Regions from separate parts of the Homo sapiens genome. Here region 1 is linked to region 2. Evidence: promoter capture Hi-C in 16 types of primary human blood cells and fetal thymus (Javierre and others, 2016). All regions are on one chromosome and are shown on one strand. Each heading gives the region's core, a stretch centred on a gene start or on the middle of the fragment in contact. The rest is flanking DNA. Distances are from core to core; before and after follow the strand shown.

What was found. Contacts are between HindIII fragments. The CHiCAGO score rates a contact against its expected background, and 5 or more counts as called.
Region 1: a contact is called between a fragment that was not itself captured here and the fragment with the promoter of CTDSP2 in region 2, in 1 of 17 cell types (non-activated CD4 T cells). The highest score is 5.7, in non-activated CD4 T cells.

What each region holds. Positions count from the first base shown.
Region 1 is chr12:57,120,338-57,126,925 of GRCh38, forward strand. No RefSeq gene overlaps it. Among named protein-coding and RNA genes, the nearest start is that of LRP1, 4.9 kb to the right of the region's middle. The HindIII fragment of the contact is 886 bases long and covers 3,756-4,641 here.
Region 2 is chr12:57,841,929-57,848,653 of GRCh38, forward strand. It overlaps CTDSP2 (CTD small phosphatase 2), which reads right to left and starts at 4,801. Exons shown (of 8, transcript NM_005730.4): 1 at 4,444-4,801. The coding sequence starts at 4,507. It overlaps CTDSP2-AS1 (CTDSP2 antisense RNA 1), which reads left to right. Exons shown (of 2, transcript NR_188077.1): 2 at 331-1,833. RefSeq lists silencers at 3,243-3,292, 3,623-3,922, 4,513-4,942, 4,953-5,032, 5,103-5,282. The HindIII fragment of the contact is 5,566 bases long and covers 912-6,477 here.

The DNA.
Region 1 (6,588 bases), core at 2,949-5,448, 720 kb before region 2:
ATCCTCCTGCCTCGTCCTCCCAAAGTGCTGGGATTACAGGCGTGAGCCACCGTGCCTGGCATAATTTGCATTTTCTTAATAACTAAAGATGTTGAGTTCTTTTCTTTTTCTTTTTTCTTTTTATTTTTGAGACAGGGTCTCACTCTGTTGCCCAGGCTGGAGCACAGTGGCACAATCACTGCTCACTGCAGCCTCAACCTTCTAGGCTCAAGCAATCCTCCTGCCTCAGCCTTTTGAGTAGCTAGGACTGCAGGAATGCACCTCCATATCTAGATCATTTTTAAATTTTATTTATTTATTTATTTTGAGATGGAGTCTTGCTCTTGTTGCCCAGGCTGGAGTGCAATGGCACAATCTCAGCTCACTGCAACCTCTGCCTCCTGGGTTCAAGTGATTCTCCTGCCTCAACCTCCCAAGTAGCTGGGATTACAGGTGCCCACCACCATGCTCAGCTAATTTTTGTATTTTTAGTAGAGACAGGGTATGGCCACATTGGCCAGGCTGGTCTTGAACTCCTGACCTCGTGATCCGCCCGCCTCGGCCTTCCAAGGTGCTGGGATTACAGGCGTGAGTCACCACGCCCGGACTTTTTGTAGAGATGAGGTCTCGATATATTGCCTAGGCTGGTCTGAAACTGCTGACCTCAAGCGATCCTCCCACCTTGGCCTCCCAAAGTGCTGGGATTACAGGCGTGCACCACTGCACCTAGCCTCGAGTACCTTTCATATGCTTATTGTCCATTCATTGGGTTGTCATTTTATTACTATGTTATAGGAATTTTTAATATATCTCGCATTCCTCTGTCCCTTCTCAGATCAATGTTTTGTCTATCTATTTGGCTTACTTCCACATTTTCATAATAATGTCTTTTTTTTTTGAGTCAGGGTCTCACTGTCACTCAGGCTGGAGTGCAGTGGCACAATCAACTCACTGCAGCCTCTAACTCCTGGGCTCAAGCAATCCTCTCTTCTCAGCCTCTGGAGTAGCTGGGACTACAGGTGCACACCATCACACTCGGCTAATTTTTTAAATTTTTTGTAGTGACAGAGTCTAGCTTTGTTGGCCAGGCTGGTCTCAAACTCCTGGCCTCAAGCAGTTCTTCTATGTCAGCCTCCCAAAGTGCTGGGATTACTCCATAATGATGTCTTCTGACGAGCAAAAGTTTTCTATTTTGATGTTTCACTTATCAAGAAATTTATGTTATTGCTTTCTATAGCTTAAGAAGGGGTTGCTTTCCTCCAAATTATGAAGATATTCTGTGTTTTTGTCTAAAAGCTTTATGATTTTAGCATTTGTGGTTTAGGTCTATAATCAATCTTTTTTTTTAGACGGAGTCTCGCTCTGTCACCCAGGCTGGAGTGCAGTGGCGCGATCTCGGCTCACTCCACCCTCCACCTCCTGGGTTCAAGCAATTCTCCTGCCTCAGCCTCTTGAGTAGCTGGGATTACAGGTGCCCACCACCACACCCAGCTAATTTTTGTATTTTTATTTTTTTAATTAATTAATTTTTTTGACACAGAGTCTCGCTGTCACTCAGGCTGGAGTGCAGTGGTGTGATCTCAGCTCACTGCAACCTCCGCCTCTCAGGTTCAAGCGATTATCCTGCCTCAGCCTCCTGAGTAGCTAGGATTACAGGCATGCACCACCATGCCCAGCTAATTTTTGTATTTTTAGTAGAGACAGTGTTTTGCCATGTTGGCCAGGCTGGTCTTGAACTGAGCTCAGATGATCCACCCGCCTTGTCCTCCCAAAGTGCTGAGATTACAGGTGTGAGCCACCATGCCTGGCCTGTTAATTGTGTATTTTTAGTAGAAACAGAGTTTCACCATGTTGGGCAGGCTGGTCTTGAACTCCTGACCTCTGGTGATTCAACTGCTTCAGCCTCCCAAAGTGCTGGGATTACAGGTGTGAGCCACTGGGCCCAGCCTATAATCAATCTTGAATTAATTTTTGCATATGGTGTGAGGTAGGGGTCAAGGTTCATTTATTTCTCCCATATAGATATGAAGTTGTTCCATAACTATTTATTGAACAGACATTCCTTTCTCCACTGGCTGGCTTTGACATCTTTGCCAAAATCAAATGACCTTTACAGTGGGATCAGCCAGTTGGTGCAATACGAAGTCCCGCCTCTCATCCCCTCACAGAAACACAGATTTAACAATTTACTGATCAAAATACCTTTATGAGAAGTACAGAATCCGGTTGAGAAGTGTGGTACCCCAGACAAGTAGAGAGCTGAGAAAAGCTGCACTGAGATGGATCCTACATTCCTGGGTCTGGGAGTGGGCCTTTCCCAGAGATACCATCCTCCAGCAGTAAGAGACCTCCAATAGTCGGGTCTCAGACAGGTTCCAGCTAAGAGTAAAATCCCAGATCAATGGTGAAAAGGAGTTTAAGAATGGATGCTGAAGCCAGGCATGGTGGCATGTGTCTGTAGTCCCAGCTACTTGGGAAGTTGACAGGGGAAAATAGTTTAAGCCCAGGAGGTTGAGGCTGCAGTGAGCTATGATCATACCACTGCACTCCAGACTGGGCAACAGAGCAAAACTCTGTCTCAAAAAGAAAAACGAAGCCTGTGCCTAGTCAACATTGAAGCAAGAATGCAGAAGTTGCACAGGGTGAGATAGGGATGAGCAGGGTGGAGGGGTGGTAAACACAAAGGAATTGCAATAAGAAATCAAACAACTATCTGATTTTTTAAAATTATGTTGAGATATTTGGGGAAAATGATAGATGCATAGAAAACTAATCAAACGAAAAATAATTCCAAGATAAAAGTATATAAAAGTAACATTATAAAATAATAAACGCATATAGAATTTTTATTAAAAAATCAAATGATTGTGAGTCTATTTCTGGTTCTCTATTCTGCTCCATGGATCTGTTTGTCAATTCTCATGCTAGCACCACATAGTCTTGATTACTGTCACTTACAAGTCTTGAAATCAAGTAGCATAAATCCTCCAGCATTGATTCATTTATTTTTCTTTTTGAGACAGGGTTGCACTCTGTTACCCAGGCTGGAGTGCAGTGGCATGATCATGCAGTGATCAGGTTCACTGCAGCCTCAACCTCCTGAGCTCAAGCAATCCTCCCACCTTAGTCTCCTGAGTAGCTGGGCCTACAGATGCATGCCACCACAGCACTGGGATTTTTAAAAACTCTCCAGGTGATTCTAATGTGAGCCAAATTTTCTAGACTCAGATTTCTCTGTCACTATCTTCAGGCCTATACAGTTAACTGGTTAGTATACTAGATCCTACTTCTTTATTGTTTCTGAATCCTCTTCCTCTCCAGCTCCATCACTCATGCATTAAGGACTTCACCAATTTCTCAACTGGCTCTACACTACTTCTAGAAAAAAAATTCTAAGTCCTTACTGTGGCTAAAATCACGCTTTGTGATTAGGCTTTCTGATACTTCATCCAACACTCTCCCCTCAAAGTACCTTAAACTTCAGCTATGATACCATATTTGATGTTCTTCACATGTTTTAAACTTCTCATGCCTCCAATGCCTTTCCTGCCATCCAGCCTAAAACACCCTTTCCTTTTGTTATTGGTTGTCATTTTCTTCCTCTCATTCAACATTTAGCCTGGCATCATCTGCTGCTCTCTGTCTTGACCACCTTGTCTGGAAGAGGTATCCTTCCCATGTTCCCATGCCCTTCTGCACATGCCTTCATCACAGGTGTTAAGGAACTGACTGTATTGTCATTGTCTGTCTCTTGTTGAGCACCCAGCTAACCTGAAAGCTTCTTGAAGGCTGAGACTGTGTGTTTCCGTCTCTTATCCCTAGTGCCTAGCAATGTACTTGCTTATACGAGGTACCTAATATTTTTATTAAGTGAATGAAATCTGGGCTTGGATCTGCACCATTATTTGGGACAGATTCTTTAATCTCTCAGAACATTCTATTTTCTTATACACACTGGAAATAACACCCATGACAAAAGGTAGACTTAAGTGAGCTGATACTGTAAATAAAGTCCACTGCGTGGGCCTGGGACATGGTATGCGCTCAATAAATACTGGTCCTTTTCCCTCTCTCCGCCTGCCATCAGACCTTTCCGGGATACCCTTCCTACGCACACTTCCTTAACTGACCACTAGGTGGTGCTAGCCTCTGGCTTGACATTCAGTTCCAGAGCTACCCAATTAACGCCCCAGCCCAGGCCCTGCTATACTCAGAAAAGGCGGGTATTTTGTAATTTGCTGAGCGACCCGAAAAAAGAGATGCCCTTTACCCACACTAGCTTCTTTGCCCTCATCACCATTCCAGGTATCAATCATGAATTTCAGAGAATTCCTCCATGATTCCCTACTATTATGGTTATAATCTCAACCCAAGGATTTGAAGATGCCTCTTAAGAACAGATGTGGGGAGGAAGAGAAGGCACTGAGGCAGAGAGGATTAAACAATGAATGCTATAAGAGAAATAGAGGGAAGAAGATGCTTGAAGTCACATCCTGTTCCAGGAAAGGCAACTCTAGTCCTAACATTCCTTTCACCAATCAAGAGCCTCTCACGCTGGGTGGAAACGAAGAAGAAAAAGACATGGTCCCTGCCCTCAAGGAGTATATAGTCTAGTGGTGGATACAGAGCCCACAAAATAAAGTGCTAAACTCTGGATACTGAAGCTTTCCTGAATACAAGTTTGGAACAGGAGAGATAGGCAGAGCGAGAATAACAGGAGGGCTTTTCTGAGGAGGGTAGAGGAGCAGGGGAACTGTATCATTAATGGCTCAGATAGAAATATGCATTCTCAGCAGGGTGAGGTGGCTCACACCTGTAATCACAGCACTTTGGGAGGCCAAGGTGCATGGATCACCTGAGGTCAGGAGTTTAAGACCAGCCTGGCCAACATGGAGAAATCCCATCTCTACTAAAAACACAAAAATGAGCCAGGCATGGTGGTGGGTGCCTGTAATCTCAACTATTCGGGAGGCTGAGGCAGGAGAATCGCTTGAACCTGGGAGGTGGAGGTTGCAGTGAGCTGAGATCACACCACTGCACTCCAGCCTGGGCAACAAGAGTGCAACTCCATCTCAAAAAAAAAAAAGAAAGAAAGAAAGAAAGAAAGACATAAATATGCATTCTCTCACCTTACAGACATACCCTCAGCAGTTCACCTGCTGGAAATAACCCAAGTGCCCAACAATCCCAACAAACTGTGGAACATCCAAGCAAGGAGATTCCAAGTAGCCAAGATCAAAGGGTGAGCTAAATGCGTTCATACGGTATGGAAAGGGATCAAGCTAAGTTAATTGAAAAAAAGGCAAGTTACAGAACACTATATATCATATGAGTTTCTTTATAGTTTTAAAGGATATTCACTTATATTTGTATGTTACTGTTTTATTTATTTATTTATTTGAGACAGGGTCTCCCTCTGTTGCTCAGGCTGGAGTGCAGTGGCACGATCTCGGCTCACCACAACCTCCACCTCCTGGGTTCAAGCGATTCTCGTGCCTCAGCCTCCCCAGTAGCTGGGATTACAGGTATGCGTCACGATACGTGGCTCATTTTTGTATTTTTAGTAGATATGGGGTTCCGCCATGTTGGCCAGTGTGGTCTCGAACTCCTGAAAAGTGATCCTCCCACCTTCGTCTCCCAAAGTGTTGGGATTACAGGCATGAGCCACCACGCCTGGCCTGTATGTTACTGTTTTAAAAACTCTCCTGGCCGGGCACGGTGGCTCACGCCTGTAATCCCAGCACTTTGGGAGGCTGAGGAGGCCAGATCACGTGGTCAGAAGTTCGAGACCAGCCTAGCCAACATCGTGAAACCCCATCTCTACCAAAAATACAAAAAAAATTAGCTGGGTATAGTGGCGTGTGCCTGTAATCCCAGCTACTTGGGAGGTCAAGGCAGAAGAATCGCCGAACCCGGGAGGCAGAGGTTGTAGTGAGCCGAGATTAGGCCACTGCACTCCAACCTGGGCAACGGGGCAAGACTCCGTCTTGGGCGGGGGGGAAACCTCTGCTGGTAGGGGAGACCTGAAGAACTGTTAGTAGAAGTTACTCTGAGGGTGCAGCTGAAAAATGGGGGTGTGGAGAGCATCAAGTTTCCTTTTACTTTTTACCTTCCTGTACTTTTTTTAACCACTAGGTATTATCTTTTCTTTCTTTCTTTTTTTTTTAACAATATAAAGTTAATAAAAATACACATTCACATTCAGGAGACAGCAGGGGATGGGAGGTTGCAAGTGAGAAGTGCATGCTGACTGAGGCCAGGTTTTGGAAAGCCATGACTGAAGAGGAGTTCACATTTGACTGGTCTATAGACACCCACTAGAGGTTCCCCAGCAAGGAAGAGACACCGGGAAAGCAGTTTTTGGAAGATTCACCTGACAGATGGGTAGGGGGAGGGAGGAAAGCCCCTTCAAGCCCTCAGGCTACATGTGGTTGCTCCAGATACCGTTTTCCTCTCAAAGCTGTCAAGCTGTCTAAAGTCTGTTTCGACCTGATTTCACTTGGATCCCAATACTGGGAGGGGCCCTGGGAGGAACCTCGTAGGCATTTGGTGAGTCCGCATAGTGCGTCTCACATTGTGTTGGGCCATGGGAGCTGGATAAAAGGAGAA
Region 2 (6,725 bases), core at 3,551-6,050:
AGTCTCATTGCAAATAGGAAAAGAAGGTATTTGAACCCAGGCCTGAAGCAATTTTGCTTCAGAAACAATGCTTTGAAGTAACAATGTAAACTTTAACCACCATCCCTGACCCTGGTCCCCACTCTGTCCAATCTAAGAACCAAACTTACCATGATGGGAATAAAAGACAATACCCCAAATTACCCAAAAGCTAGCAGAAAAAAAAAATTGTAGGAGGAATTGGAAGGGAAGCTATGTATTGATATGTACACACATACACACAATCCCATATATATTTACATATTGTCTTTCTTTTCCATGCTTATTTACAAACACTTTAATTCTTCACAGGTTGGGAGCATCAATTCACGTTGGCTAGAAATGTGACTTCTTTAGTATTTACCATTTTAACAAAATCCATGATAAGGGATTTGGAAGGTCCCATGGAAAGGATGAAATGACACCTCTCTGCTACCCAGTTTCTTTAAGACCTCTACGGTTGAGAAGAGAGGACAAAGGAACACCCCCACCTCTGCCATCCTCCGAGGGATTTTTCACAGCAATTCCAGTGCTGCTCAGTGGAAAGCTCTGCAAGTCAACTGCAAACCCCCAGCCCCAGATGTTAGGCATTTACAAACTTTGTTGCTGATTTATCAGCGCTCCTCTGCAATTTTGGGGACAGGAGCAAACACAAGCTTAAGTCACCACGCAGGCTGCAACCCTTACCCAAAGATGGGGGAAAAACTCCAAAGGAGATGCAGGAGGGAGCCTCAGCAGTCACTGTGAGAGCACAAAGAGGCCAAGACCCAGGGTAGGCAAAGGAAGGTGAGAGGCACCAGCAGGGCAGGAGGAGGAGCCAGCTATAAACATGCAGGCTTCCCGCCCCCTGCATAGCAAGCTATGGAAGGAAGCTCCAGCAAGATTCATGTCTAAGCTTTTCAAGTTAAAGGCTTGCCTACATCTACAGTGAACGGTGTCTGAACAACTTTTTGAGGGAATAAGGCAGAATTTCTCCCTTATGCGGATAACAAAAGAGCTAGCCATCCTGAAAACTTGCCACATCGTAATTTTCAGAGATGGTCAGTCTCTCAGAAGAATCCTTGCAATTAGCTATCAGAACCTGTCCAGTTCGGCATGTGAGAAGGTAATCCAGGGCATCATCGAGAGGAAGGGGCATCAGGATTCATGGACAACAAAAAAATCTCTGATTCCTCCAAAAGGCGTGTGGGTCACTGAGCTCCGGAAGAGGCTGCCTCCACCAGGTCTCATTTCACGTTGGGAGGTTACAGCGTGGGTCTTGTTTCCTTGGCTTTCCCCCATCTAATCCCAAAGCCAAGGTCACAACCTCTTAGCAATGGGGTGACAATCTCATATAGAGCTGCAATCAACAGCCATTCTTGCCAAGCTGATATTAACATTTCTTTTTTCTTTTTGATGTTACACACAATCCTGTCCTTGCTGTACCAGAAAGCCATTTCACCCATCTGTCTGGGAAGATGATCCAATTTTGGTGCTTTTATCATCAATGCTTTCAGCAACTTTGTTCTACTTCCCCTACTGTAATTACTTTTGAATCATCAACGCACCCAGACAGCCTTAAACCTCAGAGAACAGAATGCTAAAAAAAGAAAAAAAAAACCCGCAATGGCAAGTAACTTCACTAAATAGCCACCCAAGCTAGGAGCAATTTGTTTCTTTCCAGAAATTTACTTATTAATAATAAGTACCTCACACTCCTTCTTCCCCTTTTTCCAAAGGCAGGCAAGGCATGGAGATGGGATGTTGTGGAGAGGACGGAGTGGGGAGAAGAAGGAACTCCAAAAGGAGCCAATTAAAACATCTGCTTCCCCAGTCCCCCAGCTTTTGTTTTTTGTTTTGTTTTGAAGACGTAGGTTTTGTTTGTAAATGATGTGGGACTCAGAAAGTTGGTTTAGTGGTTGCTGGGTGCCTAAGCAGCCCAGGAAGAAAGTCTGTCTTCTCTGGAATGCAATCAAATTACATGGGGAGGGGCCGGGCGCGGTGGCTCACGCCTGTAATCCCAGCACTTTGGGAGGCCGAAGGGGGCTGATCACCTCAGGAGTCGAGACCAGCCTGGGCAACTGGCGAAACCCCTGTCTCTACTAAAAAATACAAAAAAATTAGCCAAGCGTGATGGCGCGCGCCTGTAATCCCAGCTACTTGGGAGGCTGAGGCAGGAGAATTGCTTGAATTTAGGAGGCGGAGGTTGCAGTGAGCTGAGATTGCGCCACTGCACTCTAGCCTGGGCAACAGAGTAAGACTCCATCTCAATTAAAATAAAAAATTACATGGGGAGGGAGAGACCCAGTGGCTGCTGGCTTAAACCACACACACAAAAAAGGAGAAACATTAACTCCAAGAAAATCCAACACCAGCAACTTAACACTGTCAAGCCAGTTGCTTTGCTTTCTGCTGTTATCTATTCTGTAGCCTGCCATTCACCCTGGTGGATGAAACTTCCAGCTCTGATTTCTAAGATGCCCCGGCGCAGTCCAGCTTTCCCTTACTCCTCGCGTGGCCCCACGATGCCCAAGGCACACTCCCTGCAAGAGAGTCCCTGCAAGAGAGGAAGACCTAGTGGGGAAGCACAGGGCTCCTCCCCCTACTCATCACCACTGCCCCCTCTTGAATCCCCCCACATCTAGGTTTCTTCCCCTCTGGCTAGCTCTTAGGGTCTTTTCCTGGGATAAAAAGGGAGTGGGAAGAGTCAGGAGTGAGCTATAAACACACGCAGGCTCCCTTCCTTTTTCAGCCATCAGCACAGTTGAGCAGCCAGCAGAGGCGGTGAAGTTGCTGCCTGGGTCACAGCCTGGTTAGTGATGCAGCCAGGAGAGCAGAAATCATGGCAACACCGAGGTCAGGGAGGCCGGAGCCTTCTCGGGGGTTGGGATCTGAGTAGGCAAGGCCATCCCTTCTCAGGGCAGGCTTATTTAAAGTCCGGCCAGTGATGCAAGAGGAACACACTGCCTCCCTCCCCCCACCCTTCCCCCCTCCCAGCTCCTCTCGTTCCACTGAGGGAATTTGGGAGAGGCTGACACCACCAACTCAGCGGATTTGCCCCTAGGGAAGTTGGGGGAGCTCCTTGGAACGTGAACCCCAGGAATTAGTGACCTGCTGACTAATGTTGCCAAACGGGGAGACGTGGGGCGCACGAGGCCCCGAAGCTGGCCGCCCACCAGGCTCTAGGCCTCAGTGTGTTCAACTGCAGCACCGGCCCTTCGCGCTCGGTGGAGAAGGGGAGGGAGCGCTCCGGCTTCGGCCCCAGGAGCCAGCTCCCGCCCCAGCCTCCGGGGCCAGGTGGCCCCGGTCGGGGGGCTCTCTAGAGAAACGCCACACTCGTCCTTACACCCCGCGGAAAATCTGCCGCTATTTTGGACACATTCCTCAAGGCCAAAAGAAGAACGTGGCGGAGGGGGAAAGAGTTTCGAGTCTCCCACTGTGACCAAACTAAGAGGTTCCACCCTCGGGCCCCAGCTTTCTCCCGCCCCGGGAGAGGCCTCGGCCTCCGCCTCACCCCCGCGAGGGCCTGCGGGCCCCCTCGCGCCTCCACCTGACGCTCTGGAAGGCGGGGGCCGCCAGCCGCTGCCCACAGAGAACTCGCACTTTTTCGCTGCGCGATTCAGAACCACGCCGGGTCTGATGCCATCCGGCGAATTATGTAACCAGGGACACCGCTCCCGGGCTAAACAAACGCGGCTCTGTGTGTGCAGCGCCGGCCCCGGGGGAGCGCACCGGGCAGGGAGGGGCTCTGGCCGGGCCTCAGGGTCGGGCTTGTTTGCTCAGCGAAACTGGTCAGAGGCAGCCGGGAGGGAGCCCGACGCCGCCAAGGTCCCGGGGCCTGCGCTGAGCCGGGAACCCGCCACGTCTGGTGCGCCAGGGCCCGGGCCCCTCCCCCACCGCGACCGCCCCCGCCTCCAAGAGGTGAACTTGGTCCCAAGTCCCGCCGGACGCCGTCACCGCCAGCTAGCTGCCCGAACGACCTCGGGCTTGGGGGGGCCTGCAAGTGCTGGACTCCAGTCTCGGTTCCGTTCCACCTGGGGCTCCCTCTGTCACCTTCCTAACCCCTCCCCGCGATCCCGGGGCAGCCGCGCGCGGCGGTGAAGGAAAGTGACGACCCCACCCCCAACTCCGGAGGCGGTGGACGCGGAGTGGCCCAGTGCTTCGAGAGCTACCCCTCCGTCTCTCAGCCCCGAGGGGGAGGGGTTGCGGGACAGGGTGACAGCTGCGCCGAAGACGCCCTTTCCGCTCGGGCGCCGGGATCCCCGTGCAACCCCCACGGAGGTCTGAGTGCCAGCCGGGATGCGGGGGCGGATGGACCGGAGGGGTCCAGTCGGGATCGCTGGCTCTAAGCCCTGGAGGTCAAGGGCCGAGACCTGGGTTCGGGGCTGTGCTAGCCCCCTCCGCGCCCGGGGGCGACGCAAAGTTTTGGGAAGTTGCTGCCCCTACCTTGCTTGGTGAGCACCAGGGCGTCTTCCCTCCGCGCCTGGGTGATGATGGAGCCGTGTTCCATCTAACAATCCCGCGGGCCCGGGCTGGCTGGGCGGGAGGACGGGCGGGCGCGCGGGCTGGGCTGGGCTGGGGGGCCTGGGCGGGGGCCCGCTCCGGCTCCCGAGACTCCGACTTCCACAGCTGTTCACATCCCCCCTCTCGTTTCCTCCCCGGACCGGGAAGGGAGGCGGCCTGTACAAAGGGCGGGCGGCCCGGGCAGCGGCTCCCCCGGGTGCCCCCGGCCCCGATCCCCCAGCGGCAGCTCCGGGCTCCTCAGTTTGGGTCCAACATGGAGAATCCGGAGCGAAAACAAGAGGAGGAAATGGGACACGGGGCGGTTTCCAGGCTCCCCCCTCCCCTCCGTACTCCAGATAAACAACCCGCGGCTGCAGCGCCCACCCCCGCGCGCCTCCCGGCTCTCGACTCGGCCTCTTCACGGCCAGCTGGAGCTTCCCGCTGGGGGCTGCGTCCTAGGCCCTGGGACCCTCCATCTGTGAGCGGCCGGGGCTGCGGACAGTCGGGAGCTTTGCTATTTTGTTACGGAAAAAGCGAATCCTCAAGGGGGGTGGGGTGGCGGGCGGGCAGGCTGGCGGGGGAGACTTGAAACCGTTCCGGTGCTCCGATTGGCTCTCTTGGAGAAAAGGGGCGTGGCCCCTCCTTACTATGCGGTGAGAGGACCTAACAACATTCCAGGCGCCACGGCCACGCCCCCGGGCCACTCCCCCCGCGCCAGACTGCGGCCTCCCAGTCTCCTCGGCCACACCCCCTTCCCAACTATTTAAAAGGCCGCTCCGAAGCTCACGTTCTGGTGCTCTGTGCTGGGGTGTTCTTTTCTCGGAGGGCGCACTCGGGGAAGGTGGAAAGGTTTCCCCCTTCAGGGGTGACCAAGACAAGCCGCTAAGCCTAACCTGACTCCAGCAGGGGATGGGGCGGATCGGAAGTTACCTTACCCCCCTGCTTAGCCCTAGAATCAAGGACGTACCAAGTCACATAAAAGTACAACCGTCGAGGCCAGGCGCGGTGGCTCACGCCTGTAATCCCAGCACTTTGGAAGGCCGAGGTGGGTGGATCACGAGGTCAGGAGTTCAAGACCAGCCTGGCCAAGATGGTGAAACCCCGTCTCTACTAAAAATACAAAAAAATTAGCCGGGCGTGGTGGCGGGCGCCTGTAATCCCAGCTACTCGGGAGGCTGAGGCAAAGACTTGCTTGAACCCGGGAGGCGGAGATTGCAGGTAGCCGAGATCGCGCCACTGCACTCCAGCCTGGGCGACAGAGCGAGACTCTGTCTCAAAAAAAAAAAAAAAAAAGTACAACCTTCGAATCCCGAAAGGGGTGTGTGCGTGTGGGCGGACCTAGGACTCCAGAGTATAAGAGCTGGAACTGACCTCGGGACTGTGTCCCCCAAAACACTGAAAATGAGACCTGAGGTGCTGGGCTTTCCTCACACCCACCGACTTACTCCCATTTAGGCGGCCCCGACTCCGCCCCTCCTCCCTACCTCCCTCATCCTACCCCTCTCTTTTTGCCCCCACAGTCCCAGCTTCCTTTAGATGGATGGAGGTCTCTCGGAGGAGCTTCAGCTTTGTGGACTCAGGCTGCCTTCCCCACTTGCTCTTTAGGCCTCGGGGCACGCTCCGCTGGCTACAGCTCCTGGAGTCTCTGCTCAAGGTTGTGGGTGCTTTTGTTCCCCAGCGGTGGTAGCTCCAGAAAGGCTGGTTTCAGCTCAATATCAGGTCTTTTCCAGTGATCTACATCTGTCCACAGGTGACATGGGCTGCCTTGGGACAATGGTAGCTGTTCAAGTCAAGGCCGGCAAGAGTGGTGTAGAGTGAGATTGCACTGGGTGACTTCTGAGCTAAATCCAACCCCAATATTCTGTGATTCAGTGGCACTCACCCTGCCAAGGAAGGGGCTTCCTTCCTGCTGCAGTTCCCATTGCCCAACATGCATCAGGTCTTACTGATGATTAGAGGACAACTAGGTCACAGCTAAGCTTGCCAGGTACTATCAGACACCTGCTTCCTATGGTCCCTTCCTCATGAGGACAGGTGAGGTCATGATCTGCATATGCCTGTGTGCCATACAGTGATCATGTGTGCCTGTTTCTGCTGTTCCTACGCACGTATACAAAACCTTTTTATATAACATCATTTTAATGGAAATGCTGTTTTTCCAAAATGAAAGTGGCTGTTACAGATCTGAATGATGCTTATGTAACTTTAAACACTGAATTTGGGTA